Linked DNA regions of Homo sapiens: regions 2, 3 and 4 are each linked to region 1. Evidence: promoter capture Hi-C in 16 types of primary human blood cells and fetal thymus (Javierre and others, 2016). All regions are on one chromosome and are shown on one strand. Each heading gives the region's core, a stretch centred on a gene start or on the middle of the fragment in contact. The rest is flanking DNA. Distances are from core to core; before and after follow the strand shown. Region 1 holds the start of EXOG (exo/endonuclease G). Region 2 overlaps CTDSPL (CTD small phosphatase like). Region 3 overlaps CTDSPL (CTD small phosphatase like). Region 4 holds the start of WDR48 (WD repeat domain 48).

What was found. The method cuts DNA at HindIII sites, captures the fragments that hold promoters and counts their contacts. A CHiCAGO score of 5 or more calls a contact.
Region 2: a contact is called between a fragment that was not itself captured here and the fragment with the promoter of EXOG in region 1, in 4 of 17 cell types (total B cells, naive CD4 T cells, activated CD4 T cells and 1 more). The highest score is 7.6, in total B cells.
Region 3: a fragment that was not itself captured here is called in contact with the fragment with the promoter of EXOG in region 1 in 1 of 17 cell types (neutrophils); the score reaches 5.7 in neutrophils.
Region 4: a contact is called between the fragment with the promoter of WDR48 here and the fragment with the promoter of EXOG in region 1, in 2 of 17 cell types (naive CD8 T cells and naive CD4 T cells). The highest score is 6.6, in naive CD8 T cells.

Annotation. Positions count from the first base shown.
Region 1 is chr3:38,494,173-38,499,415 of GRCh38, forward strand. EXOG (exo/endonuclease G) reads left to right here and starts at 2,168. Exons shown (of 6, transcript NM_005107.4): 1 at 2,168-2,358; 2 at 3,457-3,606. The coding sequence starts at 2,196. RefSeq lists enhancers at 2,317-2,366, 2,427-2,496. The HindIII fragment of the contact is 8,358 bases long and covers 1-5,243 here.
Region 2 is chr3:37,971,050-37,975,557 of GRCh38, forward strand. It overlaps CTDSPL (CTD small phosphatase like), which reads left to right. Exons shown (of 8, transcript NM_001008392.2): 6 at 358-450. Among named protein-coding and RNA genes, the nearest start is that of MIR26A1, 3.9 kb to the left of the region's middle. The HindIII fragment of the contact is 1,272 bases long and covers 1,502-2,773 here.
Region 3 is chr3:37,940,153-37,944,925 of GRCh38, forward strand. All of the region lies in intron 1 of CTDSPL (CTD small phosphatase like), which reads left to right. Among named protein-coding and RNA genes, the nearest start is that of MIR26A1, 27 kb to the right of the region's middle. The HindIII fragment of the contact is 362 bases long and covers 1,805-2,166 here.
Region 4 is chr3:39,048,978-39,053,825 of GRCh38, forward strand. It overlaps WDR48 (WD repeat domain 48), which reads left to right and starts at 3,039. Exons shown (of 19, transcript NM_020839.4): 1 at 3,039-3,096. The coding sequence starts at 3,049. It overlaps SCN11A (sodium voltage-gated channel alpha subunit 11), which reads right to left and starts at 2,967. Exons shown (of 30, transcript NM_001349253.2): 1 at 2,884-2,967. RefSeq lists enhancers at 2,200-3,072, 2,743-2,832, 2,843-2,892, 2,913-3,102 and a silencer at 3,143-3,242. The HindIII fragment of the contact is 5,994 bases long and covers 1,566-4,848 here.

The DNA of each region.
Region 1 (5,243 bases), core at 918-3,417:
AGAAGTTGGTTTATAAAACCAGGCTTGTCTGAATGAGCAAGTAGAAGAGGGCCAAGGGACCATTTCACTTACCCTCCCATCCCTTCCTTTAAGTCTCAGGTATCCCTATGGAACACCTAGGAACCTTGATTAAAGTTTACAAATCACTGGCCCAATTCCAATTTTACAGGTGGGCAAACAGGCCCAGAGGGAGTTTTCCTACCCTGAGGCAGGCAACCCTTCCAGTTCTTGACCTCTTGGGACCAAAAGTGGGGTTACACTTGTTCAGAAGTAGAGGATCTGGATTAGGAAAAGCCATCTAATATTTATCTCTCTAGTATTTAGCACAGTGTCTGGCACTTACAAGGGCCTTAAGAAATACAGTACCTCAGTGATTGTGTATTTAGTAAATTCTGGGGAAAGCTGCTGAAGTAGCCTTGAAGCCTACAGATACCAGTGTTGTCTGGTTGTATTTGTTAGGATTCTTGGTTGCAGGTGACAGAAGCCATTAGACAAAAAAGGGGGTTTCACTGAAAGGATTCTGGGGGAAATGACTAGCCAAGACTTCAGAAAGGCAGGATGTATGTGGGCTTCAGGAGCCTGTGGGAGTTGGGGTCATAACATTGCAGGCCTCCACCTGTGTCCTGGTATTTCTTCCATTATTGCTCAGAGCAAGACCAGATGCATCTGCTCCTTTGACTTCTTAGCAGGAAACAAGGCTGTAGACAGTGCCAGAGCTTTTTTTTTTTTTTTTAGACAGAGTCTTGCTCTATTGCCCAGATTGGAGTGCAGTGGCACGATCTCAGCTCACTGCAACCTCCGTCTCCTGGGTTCAAGCAATTCTGCCTCAGCCTTTCGAGTAGCTGGGATTACAGGCACGCGCCACCACACCTGGTTGATTTTTGTATTGTTAGTAGAGACGGGGTTTCACCATGTTGGCCAGGCTGGTCTCAAATTCCTGACCTCAGGTGATCCTCCAGTCTTGGCCTCCCGAAGTGCTGGGATTGCAGGCATGAGCCACTGCGCCTGTGAGTTTTACGTCACAGCTTTGCTACCCAGAGAGACTACTAGATCGAAAATCCCTAGGAAGGACTCTGGTTGATGTAGCTTAACCAGTCAGGGTCCTTCAGAAGAGGTATTCCTGGCAAGGGGGTAGCCTCCCATTTGAGGCTGTCAAAATAATGTGCACACTTCAGTAGGTTGTTAGAAGTGGCCTCCTGGTCAGTGAATCATCAGTGGGATCAGATGAAAGTTATTCCTACCAGTTATCTAAGAAATAGGAAACTTGAAGTTTCTGCTAAGAACTAAGTCCACACGGAATGCTAGAGATCATGCTGCAAAATGAAGACTCATTTGTTTGTGAGTGGTAGTCCATGAAATCTATCCTTTCTTTGCCAGCAGGCGTTCAGCAATCTGGATTTTATATTCTATCAAGACAAAGAGTAGAGATGACTCAAACATTTCTAACATTTATAGAGCACTTAGTGACATGCCCCTGGTACTTCCCTAAACATTTTACATGTGTCATCTCCTTTAATCCTCACAAGAACGCTATGGTCTAAGTATTATTATTCCAATTTAAAAGAGAAGGTTGGGGACAGTGACACACACCTGGACTTACAGCACTTTGGGAGGCCGAGGCGGGAAGATTGCTTGAGGCCAGAAGTTGGATACCAGCCTGGGCAACATAAGGAGACCCCCTTCTTTACCGCTCCCCCACTCCCGCCAAAAATTTAGCCGGGCAATGTGGCACGTGCCTGTAGTCCCAGCTACTCAGGAGGCTGAGGCAGGAGGATCGCTTGAGCCCACGAGTTCGAGATCGCAGTAAGCTATGATCATTCCACTGTACTGCAGCCTGGGTAACAGAGACCCTGTCGCTAAATAAATAAATAGACCTGAGTTGGAATATCGGCTCTGGAGACCTTAGTGTAACCATGCGCAAGTGTTTACTCACCTATTAAATGAGACTAAAGGTATTTTCTTCTCATGACTATATATAGCATACCACTAAGCCCTCTAGACATCATATTCCCCATCCATCGCCCCGTCCAGTGGACCAGGGATGAAGCGGGGATGCGCTAGGCATCCCGGTTTGTCACCAGGGGGCGTGCGAGGCCCTCAGCTTGGCGGGCGGTGAGGCGTGGGGTGACGGGGGGATGGCGGGGGCCGGCATGCGCGCGCATGCGCCGTGGTAAAAGGCCGGTACCTCGGGCAAGATGGCTATCAAGAGTATCGCTTCCCGCCTCCGGGGTTCCCGTCGTTTTCTGAGCGGCTTCGTGGCTGGGGCTGTAGTGGGCGCTGCGGGAGCTGGGCTCGCGGCCCTGCAGTTCTTCCGGAGTCAGGGCGCTGAGGGAGCGTTGACAGGGAAGCAGCCGGATGGTAAGTCTGTGGGCCCGTCCTCCCTTCGCTGGCCCAGATTTCGGGCTCCGACTCCTACCTGGAGTGTGAATGGCAGTCCTTGACGGACAGCCTTCACCGTTTGCTGGGCCCCTAGCCTGGCCCTTGGTTTCTGACCTTTATTCTCCCGGCTCGGCCTCCCTTCCCCACCTCGCGTCTCGCCAGCTTCCCTCATGTCCTTCCTTCCCCCGGGCATCTTCGTTTTCTGCACAGAACCACCCCCGCCGCCCGACTTTCTTCCCCCCAGTTACTCATCGCGATATCTATGTTTTAATGTCTGTGTTCTCTACTAAGATTGTTAGCTCCATAAGACTTGAGACTATGTCTGTTTTGGTCTCCATCATCTAACCAGCACAGTACCTGGTACATAATTGGCATTCAGTAAGTATGAATGAAGGAATAAATTAATACATAATTTTAGTAGATGAGTTAACTGCCCTTCTTTCGTCATTGTTCAGTTGAAGAATACCTGCTATCCCTCCAAAGTGTATAAAAACTCATGTTGCAATGGGTACCTTATATTTGACAAAAAAAAAAAAAAAATTAACACGAGCTCATTTCTTGTACTTTGCGGATGTGCTAATTTAACTTGCTCCTTTGGATACTTGGCATCTAGCAAGAGAACTACCCCCTTGGGGGGTTGAGGATTTGAGAAGGCATCGGGGAGGATTATCTCGAAACTGACTCACTGCTGAATGTGTGCTTGGTTTCTCCCACTAGGAAAAACAGTACCAGTTTTACTGTCATCTTGCAACAGCACACATATCAGTGCTTCAGAGATGATTTGGAAATTTGATGTGAAAGACTAATAAGATCAAGTCTTTATTCAAAAGTTAATGCAGTAGCTGCATTTTATTCACTGATTATAGGCAAATCAGTACTTTGCCTACTGTCTGTTTTCTTCATCTCATAAGTAATTGCAAAAATGAGATTTTCTGGTTGATTAGACTTCTGAGCCAGTCCTTTGTAAATCACACCGCTCTCCTTTTCCTTATAATCTTTCATTATTAAGAGCCACTAATTGTGTGTGTGTGTTTTTTTTGTCTCTGCCCCCCCTTTTTTTTTTTTTTTCATTTTTAGGATCTGCAGAAAAGGCTGTCTTGGAACAATTTGGATTCCCTTTAACTGGAACAGAGGCAAGGTGTTACACTAATCACGCTTTGTCTTATGATCAGGCAAAGCGGGTGCCTAGATGGGTTCTTGAACATATTTCCAAAAGCAAGATAATGGGTAGGTGGTTGGATAAAAAAACTGAAGTAACAGTATTTATGAAAGATGTCTCCAAATTTAAAACAGGGATGATTATTAATATTCTCAACCTTTTTCATATCATAGCACATGTAGAAAATTATATTTATATAACTTACTGGTTAAATCAACCCTGCCTGGCAGCCAGAAAGCCAGACCCTTTCCAGCTGTCTCAGGGCTGAAAATACCCATATCTTGACACACTAGTTGGGAGGCTCTGTCATAAATATTACAGCAATGAGCACCATTCAGTTTTACCTTAACAAATATTTATGTGCCTGCTATGTGTCTGGCACTGTGGTAACCCTTGGGGACCTATGTGTGACCAGAGTAGAGGATCTCTACCCCAGTGACACTTTGAGTTGGGAGAGTGGGTTGACCCATCAAACAAATAATTTTAGATGTATAATTACAATAATTTTTCCAAAGGAGGTGATTGCAAGTTAGTGTAGTATAATTAAGGAACAGTAAAAAGTTTGATGAGAGGCTGGGCGTGGTGGCTCACACCTGTAATCCCAGTACTTTGGGAGGCTGAGGCGTTTGAGCTCAGGAGTTTGAGATGAGCCTGGCCAACATGGCAAAACCGCGTTTCTACAAAAAATACAAAAATTAGCTGGGCGTGGTGGTGCACCTCTGTGGTTCCAGCTACTTGGGGGACTGAGATGGGAGGATCTCTTGAGCCCAGGAGGTGGGGGTTGCAGTGAGCCAAGATCGCAGCACCACACTCCAGCTTAGGCAACAGAGGGAGAATGTGTCTCAAAAAAAAAAAAAAGTGTGATGAGAGATTATAACACAAGAACCTGATTTTGATTAGTAAGGCTTCTCTGGAAAAGTGGACTGAAGAGTGAACGGAAATTACTTAGGCAAGGGGTTGAATGTGCCATGGGATATGGAGAAGAGCATTCTAGGAAGAAAGGAACATTTGCATCTTCGGAGGCCCCCAATGTGGACAGGAGTTTTGTTCTTTTAGGGAACTAAAAGAGTGCCAGTAGATGAATGAGGGGGAAGGTGATGTGAAATGATGCTGGAGAAGTAAGCAGGTGTGTCAGTTTATTCATGTGTCCTTATGTCTTGATAGGGTCCTGTAGAATTGCCAGATCTTGATAATTAATGTCAAATTGGTTTCTAGGTAGATTCTTCAAGTTTACACTCCTAGCATCATTGTTTCTTCTCTCTCTCAACCTTCACCTATGGTGAGCATTACTGAGCTTTACCAATTTAATGCTCATTTTACTTGTGTTTATTGATTATCAATGAGGGTTAACATGCTGTGAATTAGTCTTTTTTGGTAAGTTATTCTTTACCTATTTCAGTTGGGGTATTCTCTTTTGAATTTATTTGTAAAAGTTCTTTTATTTATTAAGGATATTACCTTTTGTCACAGTTGTTTTGTTCCCTTTTGTTATTTGCTTTTTAATTTGCTGTGTGTTCCACATATTCTCCTTTGCTTTAAAATGTGTGCTATGGCTATGCATATTAAAATGCTGATATTAAAGTTAGTGTGTGCCATTCTAGAGTGCACAGCAACCAGCAGAATAACAGGAGGCTTGGAATGTACTTGGTGTTAGACAGAAACTGATGTAAGTGAAAACTTTATCAAGCATATAAGAAAACCTGGG
Region 2 (4,508 bases), core at 888-3,387, 520 kb before region 1:
ACCCTCAGCAGGTGCCAAGAAACACACGTGAAATGAATGAGTCATTACACACAAACATGGTACAACCCTTCCATTTGCTGGCCCTGAATATCCCCAAGACCCTCACACCATGGTCAGCTTCTCTTTTTCCCTTAGGAGGGGCGTCTGCAGTGAACTCAGACCTGGAGCCCTGTCTGAGGAGTGCCACGTCTGACTCCATAGCCCCTCATACAGTCTAGGCCTCTGCCTGCTATGCATAGACCTGGGGGAGGGAGGCAGGAACCTTTGTAGCAATTCTTCCTACAGTGGGCATTTGGGCCCCAGGCCATCCCCAGCAACTGCCACATCTGACCAGCCTGCTGTCTCCTGCCATTGCAGGTGTATGTGCTGAAGCGGCCACATGTGGACGAGTTCCTCCAGAGGATGGGGCAGCTTTTTGAATGTGTGCTCTTTACTGCCAGCTTGGCCAAGGTGAGTCCTGCTTCCCAGCCCCACACTCCCAGCCTGGTACTCCCAGCCCCTCCACCCCTACCCCCAATCTGTCAAGCAGCCCTTTGTTTTGGTGGGGGAAGCCATTTCTATGGTGACAGGTTCCCACCCCAGATGGGATGGATGCAGGCCATGTGCATGGTGCCAGTCTGAAAGCCTTCTGGGTTACCATGGTGACAGGGAGCACTTAGAACAAATGCTCCATGAAGTTGCTGTGTGCAGCCACCTGAAGCTGGGTGTCCACAGTCCAGAGAATCACAAACAGGTCCAGTGTAATGGACAAAGGATGGTGTACCCCTCAACCATTGACTGTCAGCCAACTGCTAGAGGCCCCTGTGTCCTTGGGTTTTGCTTTCACAGATTTGAGGGAGAAGCAAGTGAGAGATAAGTGTTGGACACTCACCCACATGCTTGGGCTGAATGAGAGTTCCAACTGCCCTAATGAGCTGTATGATCTGAGGCAAGTTACTTCACTTCTCATGTCAGTTTCTTCTATAAATTGGGGATAATTCCAGCTACCTTGTGGCTAGATCACATGAAATAACATATGTAAAGGACTTAGCACAGTGTCTGGCTCACATACAGCAAGTATTCATTGAGCACTTGCTGTGTTCCACATACTGTGCTGGGCATTGTCACATGATAAGCACTCCTGATGTTCATTATTTTGTGTTACAATTATTTGTTGATGATGATAGGCCGGGCGCGGTTGCTCATGCCTGTAATCCCAACACTTTGGGAGGCCAAGGAGGGCGTATCACCTGAGGTCAGGAGTTCAAGACCAACCTGGCCAACATGGTGAAATCCCGTCTCAAAATACAAAAATTAACTGGGCATGGTGGCGGGCATCTGTAATCCCAGCTACTCGGGAGGCTGAGGCACGAGAATTGCTTGAACCCAGAAGGCAGAGGTTGCAGTGAGCCAAGATCATGCCACTGCACTCCACCCTGGGCGACAGTGACTCCGTCTCAAAAATATATATACATATATTTATTGGTGATGATAAAATCATTCAGACATATCTTGATCCTAAAGCTTGATATGAATCTGACCTAAAATCTACACTGGCTCTGATCAAATAGAATGGTTTCTTTGTCCTCTCCACTGTTTAAGGAAACTAGCAGGTTCCCAAGCCTCCCAGTATGGTTTAGTCTCCCCCTTCACAGGTGTGGCAGGGTGCCTGTGCTGTGTGGGGCAGGCAGGGTAGGCCTTGCTTCTCCCAGGAGATCTTTGCCTTGACCATTTCCCAAACTCTGACTCTGATGGGGCTGACACCATCCATTTGTTGGTAGCACCACAGTTGTCTCCATGGGCATCTCAGGGACCCTGAGTGGTCCCAAAGATGAGTTTTCTGGGGCCCAGGTTAACCATTTGCCTGTCTCCAGGACATCACACAGTAGCTTCCTCCGCCATGTCCTGCTTCTGGACGGTGCCCTGATGCCCATACTCCCTTCTCTTCCTCTGCATGTTCCACTGCTTTGCTGGCCTGGCCATTGCTGGTTGGGTCCATCTCTGTGATGATTGAGGGGCGGGAGAGCCCCACTTGCACAAATGCTGCCAGACTTATCACCAGGCCTTAGAGCATGAACCAGTGGAGTGGGATTCAAAATCCTCGTCCTTATTTTTGCATTTCAAAAAGAGAACAAGGCCTCAGGGAAAATAGAGTCTTCCCCAGTGGGTAATCTTTCAGATGAGTGGTACCAAGATTAATTGTTATCTGTAGCATCAGTGGCTCTTCCAACAGTGCTCTGGGATGCTGAAGGGCCTGAAGTAATAACCAAAGAAATAAACAAGAAGATTGCACCAATAGCAGTGAAGTGAGAGCTGTTTTTTGTTTGGGAAAATTGAGAACACTCTTCCTTGGCATTGTCCCCAGCATTTGCTTAAACATCCTTGTTCGGTTACTCTTCCTGGATGGCTCCCACCTGCCCCACCATCTGTCTCTTCAACCCTTCTCTTGCTGCTACTCCAGCCTTGCTGAGCCGAATCAGCTCCCACGTGCAGCCTTCCACCCTCTTTCCTCGCTGAGGTACATGTCCTGCTGATGGGTGGTCATGCCCCTGTCCTTGGCTCTGGACTCGGCTTCCAGCCAGCAGTAGTGGTGCAGTGGACCTCCTTGCCTGCTGCCCAGGAGCCCGCAGGAACCTCAAGCTGACTGTCGTAGCCTTTCAGTATCTGCTTCATTGTCATTCCTTCCTTCATTCACCCAGCAAATATTTACTTAGTACCTATTGTGTGCCAGGCACAGTACTAAATACTGGGGATATAGCAAAGAAAAAAAGAGACAAAGTCCCTCCCCTTGTGAAGCTTACATTCTTCACATTCATTCTCTAAGGCCTGGAGGCCTCAGACTCAGACACTCTTGAAAGATAGGTGCTACCACAAGTGTTCATGATTATGAGGAAATAGATCATCTTTTTCCATTTAGAGCAAGCTTGTCCAGCCTGTGACCCACAGGGCGCGTGCAGCCCAGGACAGCTTTAGACGTGGCCCAACACAAATTCGTAAACTTTCTTAAAACGTTAGGAGATTTTTTTTAAAGCTCATCAGCTATTGTTAGTGATAGTGTATTTTATGTGTGGCCCAAGACAATTCTTCTTCCAATGTGGCCCAGGGAAGCCGAAAGATGGGATACCCCTGATCTGGACTCAGTTGCCTACAACCCACCCACGTGGCCCCTGGTTAGCCTCACCAGCAGATGACTGTAGTGCCCTGAGCTCTCACCTCCCTTGGCCAGTAGGAAACACAGCTGCTCCTGGACTCTGCCTCCTACAGGATGTCCTTGGAGAGGAGAGGATGTTCCCACGGAATCATAGCTGCTGCTTGCAGCTTTGCAGCCCACGTCCCACAGCTGTGCTGGCACTTGCTCTGCACTCCACTACTGGCCTTCCCAGCGCCACCAGCCACAGGTGCTCTCTGCCTCCCTGGCAGAGTCACTGGGTCCCGCTGATGCCTGGTTGTACCCCTTACTTGGTCTTGGTGCAGGGGCCTGGCCTCGTGTCAGGCTTGGCAACTGCTCCTGTTTCTTCCAGGCCTAGCCACTCAGTATGGCCCACTCTTTTAGGTATCTTCAGTTATGAGGATTTTCTCTCAGAAACCCCTTTATTTCTTTCTCCAAGCCTGCTTTGGGGGAAATTTCCTAGGTCATGAGAGAGGGCCAGGCAGGATGATCCGCAACTGTGAGCTGGGCTCAAACTCCCATCCAGCTCCTGGGCTTCAAGGAAGTGGATGGGCATCTATGGGAGTGGACGGCTGGGCACCATCCTGTCACTCAGGGGCTGGTCTGGCCCAAGTGCCCAGAGGACCTCTAGGGGGCAGTGTCATGCCATTCAAGACACATTGGAGCCAGCTCATTCATTCAGTGGTGAAATTCATGTTTACTGAGCCCCTCTTGTGGTAGATACTCTGGGAGGTGCTAGGGATGTGGTGGTGGGGATGTTTCAGGCCTGGGCCCTGACAAGGAGAGAGGAAATCAAGCAATCCCACATAGTACTCCACTCTGTGAGGGAAACAACCCAGAAAGGAAGATAGATGTGGCTCTAGGTGGATGGGAGAGGAAGTCAAGACCTGAAAAACCAGGAGACAGATGTTCTGCAAAGAGCTGGGGAGAGAATGCATGCAGAGGGAACACTGGTACAAAGGTCCTGACCATACTCAAAGCCAGTGTGGCTCCAGGGGCTCCAGATGGAGCTCATTCAGCTGTGCCATGTGGGACGCAGCAGTGAGGAACGTGGGCCTTACTCCAAGTGCGGTGTGTAGACAGTGGAGAGTTTTCAGCAGAGGAGTGACATGATGGCACATATGTTTTCCAGTGGCCACTCTGACAGCTTCTAGGTGAATGGGCTAGAAAGGAGGCCCCGTGGGAAAGACAGGTTTTTCACGAGGCTCACACAGCCATCCCAGGCCAGAGATTCGAGGCCCAGGCTAAGGGTGGTGGCAATATAAATAGATGCAAATGGAGTCAGGCTATCTTTGGAGATGAAACTGACAATTCCTGATGGTTGGATGTGAGAGAAATGGAAGAATCCAGTGCCATCTTA
Region 3 (4,773 bases), core at 736-3,235, 550 kb before region 1:
CTTCTTTGGGCACCAAGAGTGCTCTGCACTTTCCCATCCTAACAAGACTCATTGTATACCAGAAGTACATATTCAAATGTCTCTCCTGCTAGATGTGGGCTTCATGAGGTCTGACCCCTGCCTATGTTGTTGGTCAATGCTTCTGTACCACCTAGCATCAGAGCTTACATTTTGAGAGACAATCCTTTCCATTTCAAATCACATAAACCCAATTATATTGGCTTAGGAGCAAAAGAGAATTTGTTTACTTACATAACTGAAAATTCCAGAAGGGTCTGGTTTTAATAAAACCAAGTCCTCAGACAGTGTCGTCAGAAATCTGTCCTTCTTTGTAACCCAGCTCCTTTTTTCTCAGTTTTGGCTTCATGCTCAGGTAGGTATTTCTTACGAGGTGCAAAGATGACTACCAATTGCTCCAGGCTTACATCCTGCCATGTTAAGAAACCCAGCAAAAGGCAAATATCCCTTCCAATAGGGCTTGCATGAATCCTTGCAGAGTCTTTGGTCCAGGGTGGGTCACGTGCCCATCCCTAAGCCAGTCATGTGGCTCAGATTGGCCAGCCCTTGATAAAGGACAGAACATTGGTAGGGTGAGAGTGGTTCCCCAGAGGAAAATAGAGGAACTTTTACCAGAAAGAAGGGTAATGGATTCTGGCAGGCAAAAAATGTCAGATGTCCACTACACTCCCCATCTGTAACTGGTGCTTTGAAGATACGGGTTCTTGCTGCTGGGCCAGCACTCTGCCTAGAAGACCAGGGAAGCATTTGGAAGGCTTCCTGTCTTGTCTTTAGAGAGGAAGGCAGTTGTCTATATGTGTACTTTAAGCTGCCCCATTCATAGACCCTCTGTAAGCCTATTGCTGGCAGATAGGAGGTCCCCAGCCCATGGGAGGGGCAAGGGAGAAATGTGTATGAGTGGGAAACAGGGTCTTAATTTGCTGGGCTGCAGTGACACCAGGGCCAGGGGCCTAGGCAGAAGCATTAGCTCTAAGGGCATATCCAGGAAAACAGAGCCACATGCTACCCTGTTCCTCCAGTGGATACACAGGGACCATGCCCCACATCTCCAGCTCTTCACAACCCTCTCCAGGGTTTCTACTCCACCCGAGTTTGTGCACAGAAATGGAGAAAGTTAAGTCTTTAACTTCTCTACCTCATCTACCTCTATCAAGGATTTCCCTTTACTCTCCCTGTGGGGTATCTGTGCCCATGGCATCTTTGTGTGCTGGGACCGGCTATGGGCATGCTTTCTTTCTATCTTTTTTTCTTTTTTTTTTTTTTGAGACAGAGTCTCACCCTGTCACCCAGGCTGGAGTGTGGTGGCGTTATGTCAGCTCACTGCAACTTGTGCCTCGGCCTCCTGAGTAGCTGGGATTACAGGGGCCCGCCACCACACTCCGCTAATTTTTGTATTCTTAGTAGAAACAGGGTTTCGCCATGTTGTCCAGGCTGGTCTCAAACTTCTGGCCTCAGGTGATCTGCCCGCCTTGGCCTCCCCAAGTGCTGGGATACAGGAATGAGCCACCGCATTTGGGCCGGGCATGTTTTCATTGACAGGGATAAGGAGGAGAAAGAGGGTGGTCCTTCAAAGCAGGCCTGCCCCGGGCTGAGCCTTGGGAAAATGGCAGCATGTTGTAGCCTATTGGGGGACCCGGCAGGGGAGACTGCTGGGTCAGCTAGCCACCTCTGTGGTCCTCCTTGCATGGTCCTCCTCAATGCTCCTTTCTGATGTACAGCTTGAGATAAGAAGTCCCTGGAACCAGATGCAGACCCAGCAGGCAGAATGCTCTGCAGAAGAGAGCTAAGCTTCAGCCCCAGAGGGAATTAAGTAAGGGGATTGGGGAGGGAGAGTGTATGCTTCCTGACCTCCACTTGAAAGCATTGTTCTTTTCCTAAGGGAAAACAGCCCCCAGCAGAGCTCACTGGGACATGCAACCCCTCCCTTTTCCTTCCCCATGTCTATATCTAATTTTTAGAGCAATTGATTAAAATCACTTCCTGAGATTTTTCTAGTTTTGCTTTCTGAATTACAGTTTATGTAACCAAGATCTGTTATAGTGAGTTGTTTCTCCTAGTTGTCAGATAGCAGAGAAAAAAATGTACGCCCGCAGAATCCAGCCTTTGATCCAGCGTTCCTGGAGAACCCTCACTCATTTATGAAGCGAAAGCTTTTATGAGACTATAATAATAAAAGCTAAAATGTATATAGCCTGGGTGTGGTGCCTCACAACTGTAAGCCCAGCACTTCGGGAGGCCGAGGCAAGCAGATCACTTGAGCTCAGGAGTTTGAGACCTGCCTGAGTAGCATGACAAGACCCTGTCTCTACTAAAAATAGAAAAATTGGCTGGGCGTGGTGGCACATGCCTATAGTCCCAGCTACTTGGGAGACTGAGGTGGGAGGATGTCTTGAGCCCCGGGGGTAGAGGTTGCAGTGAGCCAAGACTGTACCACTGTACTCCAGCCTGGGTGACAGAGTGAGACCCTGTCTTTAAAAAACAAACAAAAATTATGGAGTGCTTGCTCTATGCTAGGCACTGTTATAAGAACTCATTTAATTCTCACAACAAACCCTAAGATGGGTATTTATTATCCCCATTTTACAGATAAAGAAACTGAGGCACAAAGAAGTCACACAACTTGCCCAGGTCCTGTACTGTTGCTGGTTGAGCCAGATTTCGCACCTAGGCAAGTTGGCATTGGAGCCCACATTCCTAACCACCACACATTTTTCTAACTTGATGGGCTTTACCTGTCATGTCAAGAATTAATTGTGGGATGCAAAATCAACAGCAGAGAGACAAGTCAAAAAGCAACTGTAGTGGACCTGAGCCAGGATAGGGCAGGGACAAGGAGTTGCTAAGGATATATTTAAGAATCGATTAGGATGTCAGAACCAACAACTTAATGAGGGAAAAGGACAGATGTCTAGCTTAGGATATTGGTACCCTGAGTGAAGAGGGGAGTGGTGAGCCCCATTTAGATATGCTGAGTCGAGGCATCCAGAGGAGATGTCCAGCAGACAGGTGGATGAACTGGCCTGGCCCAAAGACACAGCTCAGTCAGACACACGTTCATTTGGGAGTTTAGTGGCCAAAGAACAAATGATCTCCATGGGGCGGTTGGCGAAGGCTTCCTGGGTGAGGTTGGCTTTGAGCCAGGCTCTGAAGAGCAGGATGCTCTGAGAAGTGGGGAAATGGGGGGAGGAGGAGTGGGAGAAGGGATGTCAGTGTGATGAGGAGTCTACCATGGAGGAAGCTAGGGAGTAAGGTGGGCAGGTGCTGGGTTTGGATAAGGGAGGTTATCAGGGAAAAGTGACAGAAAACTTTGGAATGACTTTTGATGACTCCTTCCTCCTAAGTCTGATTTTTAAAAATGAAAATCGTTACGGAATATTTTAGACTGACGTTCATAGTTGCTACTCCCTCCTTTGCTCTTCCAAAGTAATTTCTTAAAACCAATGTTATGGGGAGATGTATGCATTCAACTATCTTTAATATCCTAAAAGACCTTGTTCTTGGATACCTGGGCCACCAGGAGACCTCTCATGTGTCTTATCAGTGGAAACGTAAAGGGGGCAAGCGAGGAAAGGTGGTGAGAGGTAAAGTCTTGGTCAAAGCAGAGAAGCAACAAGACCCCTTTTGTGTGTACAAGGAGGATGAGCGGTGGAGCTGGATGCCAGATGAGAAAGCCAGCAGGAGCGTTCTACTGGGAAAAGGACACTTCTTTGGTACCTTCTTTTCACATGGGCCTCCTCCGGTTTTGAGTTTGGTGGGTATGTTCATTCTTGTTGATATCATAGACCAGGAGTGGCTGTGGGCCGTGACAGTAGCCACATTGCTTCTGCAAGGCTGAGAACACTGCTGTTGCCTGGTTTGTGTCATAGGCTTGGAGTGTAGAAGCGTACGAATTAGGCTGAAGGTTGAGAATTAGAAGGAGGATATGGTTTAGAAATAGCACAAAGTTGCCAAAAGACAGTTTAACAAGACTGTTTACTCCCCCCCCATTATTAGAGCAATACATAATTACCAGAAAACATTTGGAAAATGTGGAAGAAATGTAAACACTTATGGTCTGACAATTAATTACTGTTAACCTTTTGACATATTTCTTGCAAATCTTTTCTCAATTATAATCTTTTTTAGTTTGCTTTGCTTAGTTATGATCAAGTCAGATATACAATAATATATATTAACTTTTTCACCTAATGTTATGACGTCAACATTTGTCCATTAAACTGAATTTTTATTTCATGTGTCAACCAAAACTCTCTTACCAGTTTATGAGCAAATCAAGGACCTTCTGGATGATAGCTGGGGGAGAGAAGTAGCAGCTGGGGCTGGAAGGCAGTAGGGTCATTAGTCCAGAGCACCCACGTCTGGAGCCCTATTCAGGAACAAGTGAATGCTGAGGGTGGGTGAGGCCAGTGCTGATACTGAGGAAATCCTTCCATTTACCCTTCCCACTTCTCCTATTCTGAGAGTTCTAGACCAATCCAAGAGTGATTAGAAAATTAGCCACTGAGCCTCCAAGAGGTTCCTGCAGGCCCTAGAACTAACCTTATTTGAAAGGAAGAATCCTGGAACCTCCCACAGCTGTGAAAATGAAACCACTTTGGCTGCTTCACTCTTTATACAGAGAAGGAAAGACCTGGGTAAGCTCCCTTTCCCTGTCTGGAGGCACGATGGCCTCCCAGGTGTTCAGATAACTAATTTACTGACTCCGTTAGCAGTGTGTAGCTTCTGTACAGTAAGTAATCATGTGGTAGAAATTAT
Region 4 (4,848 bases), core at 1,789-4,288, 560 kb after region 1:
GCTGCCCCAGCTGATGTGAAGTGGATAGTGGAACAGAGACAATCTGTTCCCATGAAGCTCTGCATAAATTACAGATTTGTAAGTAAAGTAAGGGTTGTAATTGTTTTAAACCATTGCATTTTGCAGATGGTTAAACAGCAATAGATAAAAGGAACAGGAAAAAAGAGTGCTGAATATTGGACAGTAGTTCAGAGCATATACTGCATCCTACAGGACAGTATCAAAAAGGGTTATCTCCCAGAAGGCACCATAGCTAAGTCTTCAATATATCTTCAATAAGACAAGATACTTCTCAGTGATTGAGTACACAATTAGACCAATAAATTCCATGGGCAATAGCCCATTGCATTACTTCTTTCATTGCAGAGTGAATTTCTTGGTCAAAAGCAATATAGTGTTAGAGAAAATGATAGTGTCTAAAGCACTGAGTAATTCCCTAGATGGTGGTGTCAGCGGAAGTACAGTGAGCAGGGAAAGCAAATCTCAATCTAGAATAAACATATTTTAGAGAGGACAAATAAGAACTCCCTCAATGATGGGGAGGGCCAATGACCAATGGAATAGACTTGCCTACATGTGACTGGCTGACCCTCCCAGAGCATGGGGTATTGGTCACTGCTTCTGAACACCCAGCGGTGGCTTGGTGATCCCATGCATAGCTCCAATCCTGTTGCCATTGCCATTGCCATTTATTTCATGATTCTACTGAGCAGGCAGTGAGGCTGAGTTTCATCACAAAGCAGTTCATTTCATCCATATGATTCTTAAGATTTATTCTGAGAGGTCCATCACTATATCCCTTCTGGAGTCTTCCTTGTCACTAGTTCTCCAGTCTTGCTCTTTCCATGTCCTTCACAAACTGGCCAAAAAATTATCCTCTGACCCTGAATTGACCATTTCTCCTTTCAGCCAAACTGAACATCAAAACATACTGGTGAAAATTCTGCCCACTGAAAGAACTTCACTATTTCAATATTTTTCAGGTCCAAAGCAGGACTACAACATATCAATTTCTAGCAAGTACCAGTATATTGTCCAGAGCAACATACCTGTATTGTATTTTGCACATCATAGGTGCTCAATAGACACTTAAGCAATTTTTAAAATACAGACATATTATTTCCCTACCTGTATTTCAACAGCTTCCCATTGGTCTAAAAGATCCTGCTGGGTATGGCCTCTGCATACTCCTTTCACTTCTCTGTACTCTAAGCCTTGACTCTCAGTTCCTGTAATGTTCCATGCTCTCTCCTGCTACAAGACCTTTGCTCAGACTGTTCCCTCTCCTTGCCTAGTTAACTCTTGACTCAAGATACTTCCTGTCTTACAATCATCTTTCTTCATAGTACTTATCTCTGTATTAATTCCTGTCTCATCCTGGGACTCTAAGTTCTATGACTATGTGCACTCACCACTGATTCCCCAACACCTAATATAGTGCCTGGCATATATGATATGCTAAATAATATTTTGTTAAATGAATGAATACATGAATCAGTGAATGAATAAGCCTGTAATGATGCAGTAATTTACCTATAAGTTATCACTGCCAGTTTTGCTTAAGAAGCTTTCTGCCATCACAATTTTTACTCATCTAATTCACATTTCTTTATTAATTTAAGAAGTATTTGTCAAGACAACTTTTCTAAGCATTACTTATATACTAGCACTATGCAACAGAAATTTGTGACCACATATGTAATTTTAAATATTCTAATATCCATGACAAAATTAATAAATTTTATTTAGCCTAATATACCCCCAAACATCATTTCAACATGAAATCAATACAAAAAATTATTAATGAGATATTTTACATTCTTTTCTTCAAACTAGTCTTTGAAATTTGGGGGTAGTTTACAATTACATATCTCAACTGGAACTAGCTATATTTCAAGTGCTCAAGAGCCACAAATGACTAGCAGATACATCATATGCTATATCCCACAGTGTAGTTCTATAGGATTCACTTTCACTAGAGAGGGTCTGATCACCCTCAGCTCTTATAATTAGTGGTCAGGAAAACCACCTTAAGTCAAACCTAACTGTTCCAGTATAAGAGATGATTTAAACTAGAATTGTCTCTGGGAACAATTTTAGCTGGTGTACCGTTTTCGCCTTCCTATAACATCTTTTTGTCTTGTTTTTTTTTTTTAAACTTTTAAGTTCAGGGGTACAAGTGCAGGTTTGTTATATAGGTAAACTTGTGTCACGGGTGTTTGTTGTACAGGCTATTTTGTCACCCAGGTATTAAGCCTAGTACCCATTAGTTATTTTTCCTGATCCTCGCCCTCCTCCCACCCTCCACCCTCCGAAAGGCCCCAGTGTGTGTTGTCCCCCTCTTTTGTGTCCATGTGTTCTCATCATTTAGCTCCCACTTATAAGTGAGAACGTGCGGTATTTGGTTTTCTGTTCCTTTGTTAGTTTGCTTAAGGATAAGGGCCTCCAGCTCCATCATGTCCCTACAAAGGACATGATCTCGTTCTTTTATGGCCCCACTTTTTATCCTTTTAATTTAAACGGATTCTTTGCTCCCCCTGAAGATGGAGGCCACCTCCTTTGCAAGGACTTCTATCTCTCCCCCTTTGAGGCCACGACATAATTCTCCGCATTTTTAGGTACTTAACAGTAAATCACTTGGTTCACTTGGTTCTCCTGCCTGCCTAGGAAAGGTCAGGAGATGGTCCAGCGCCATGTCTAGCACTGTTAATTCTTTCAGTGCTTTCGTTTTGCTTGGGCCTCTCGGGGAGGGCGCGGAAAAGAGCGCAAGCCAGGGTCTAGGACCACACAAGTGAATTCGTGTTGCTCCCTCAGCCCTGAAAAGTGGCTCTCTCCCCATCAGCATTATACTTGCACAGTGGTTTTGTTTTTAGGTGCATCTACCTCATCACATGGCTACCGGCCACACAGCAACTAACAGCACCGAGGAAACACAACAGCCTGTTTACCTTCAGCCCCGCCACTAACCCTTGGCCAAAGGGAAAGGGGCAGGACATCCTCCCGCTCTGAGCCACCTCCGGAAGTGACGTCGGAGTGTCAACATGCAAGATGGCGGCCCATCACCGGCAGAACACAGCAGGGCGGAGGAAAGTGCAGGTATGGAAGCCCGGTTCCTCGGTCTTCCGGACGCGGCCGGCAGCTCCGGGCCCACTCCAGCTAGAAGGTGCCCGGCGCCACGACCAGCTGGGGTAGCGGCATGGGGCGAACGGGGCGGGGCGCGGCCGGCCACGAGGGGTGGGGCCGCGGCGCTAACGGCTTGAGGAAGGGGCGGGGGTCGGCTTGCTTGGCCCTTGGGGCCCAGGCCCGGGACCCTCGTGGGCGGCATTCTGAGCCCGGGATTGCTTGTCGCCGCTCTTCTGTAGGAGTGGACTTGCGGGGTCGGGATAGGCTCGTTCCCCGCCCACTTGCCTCCCCCTTGCCCTGTCTTTCTTCGAAGCGCTCTGCCCTCGCTGCGTCGGAGCCGAGGCCTCCAGGGGTTTCCCAGGGGGGTGGGCGTTGGAGGAGTGAGCGGCTTGTGCGGGGGCGTGGCGAGGCGGCGGAGCGCCAACGGCCCTGCGGGGTTTCTGCTGAGGATTCCGCACTTGGGAGCCCCCAGCCCTCTCTTATGTGGGAGCTGTCCCCTGGGTAGGTTTAAGTGACATAAGAATGTGCGTGGGGAAATTATAATTTTAATTGTTTTGGTATTTAAGTTCCTCTTCACCATTTCTTCATCTTAAGTGTGCATCGCTGAATCTGTCTTTATTGTTTGTGTAATTTATTGTCCATGTGGTAAAGAGTTGTCTAATCTTACCGTGTGTGTCTTGTGCCTTATGCCTTTGTGAATTCACTTTTGTTTGCGGTTACGCTTAAGAGTTACTGCCACTTCGGGGAACATCACACACCGGGGCCTGTCGGGGGCTGGGGGCGCTAGGGGAGGGATAGCATTAGGAGAAATACCTAATGTAAATGACGAGTTGATGGGTACAGCAAACCAGCATGGCACACGTATACCTATGTAACAAACCTGCACGTTGTGCACATATATCCTAGAACTTAAAGTATAATAATAATATTAAAAAATAGTTATTGCCACTTAATATTTTCAGTGATGCAGGGAATAAAAGCCCTCTTACAGGTGTTTGCCTGCAGGTATATTGTATGTGGTAGTGGCAGTTTGGTGCATTTATTCATTAAACATTTACCTAGCACTTAGGGTGGCCCCCAAAGGGGAAAAGGGATTGAAAGGGTGTAGAAATAATTAACACCTAGGCTTTCTTTATAAAACACAGCATTATATGGAGTTCTGCGGGTTGAAATCAAGTGTCAGATAAAGGTAGTTAGATGAAGGGGTCCTTCAGTAAGGTAATCCCAGCAGAAGGTGGTAGGCCATAAAGTCTTCTGATTAGTTCACATCTTGGTTTTATTGATCTCACTGATCAGTACAGTGTCTTAAGCACTCACTGGATGTTTGTTGAAATGAGTGAAATTAATAAGTCTAAACTCACCCTATTAGGTGTTTTTCAGTGCATTAGTGATAGGATTTAAGTATCACCAGCATCCAAGGCAGGTAGTGAGAATGTCTCCTTGGGACTGAAATATAACTCAAAAAGTAACCCGATTGTATTATAGACTCTATGGTGGTGTACATCTTAGGAGAGTAAGGGTAGTTAATCAGGCCTTTCAGTTTATTGCATTAAGACTTAAAACTCCTATTACTGCAGTGTGTTCCCTGCTTGCTTCCTTCCCAGGCCTGCCCACTCCCAAAATGCATGCAATAAAGTATATATATTTTAAAAAGACTTACAAGGCAATTGTACTAGTATGGGATGGAGAAAATGTAAATTAACTGCAGCAGGTTTGGAAAAACAG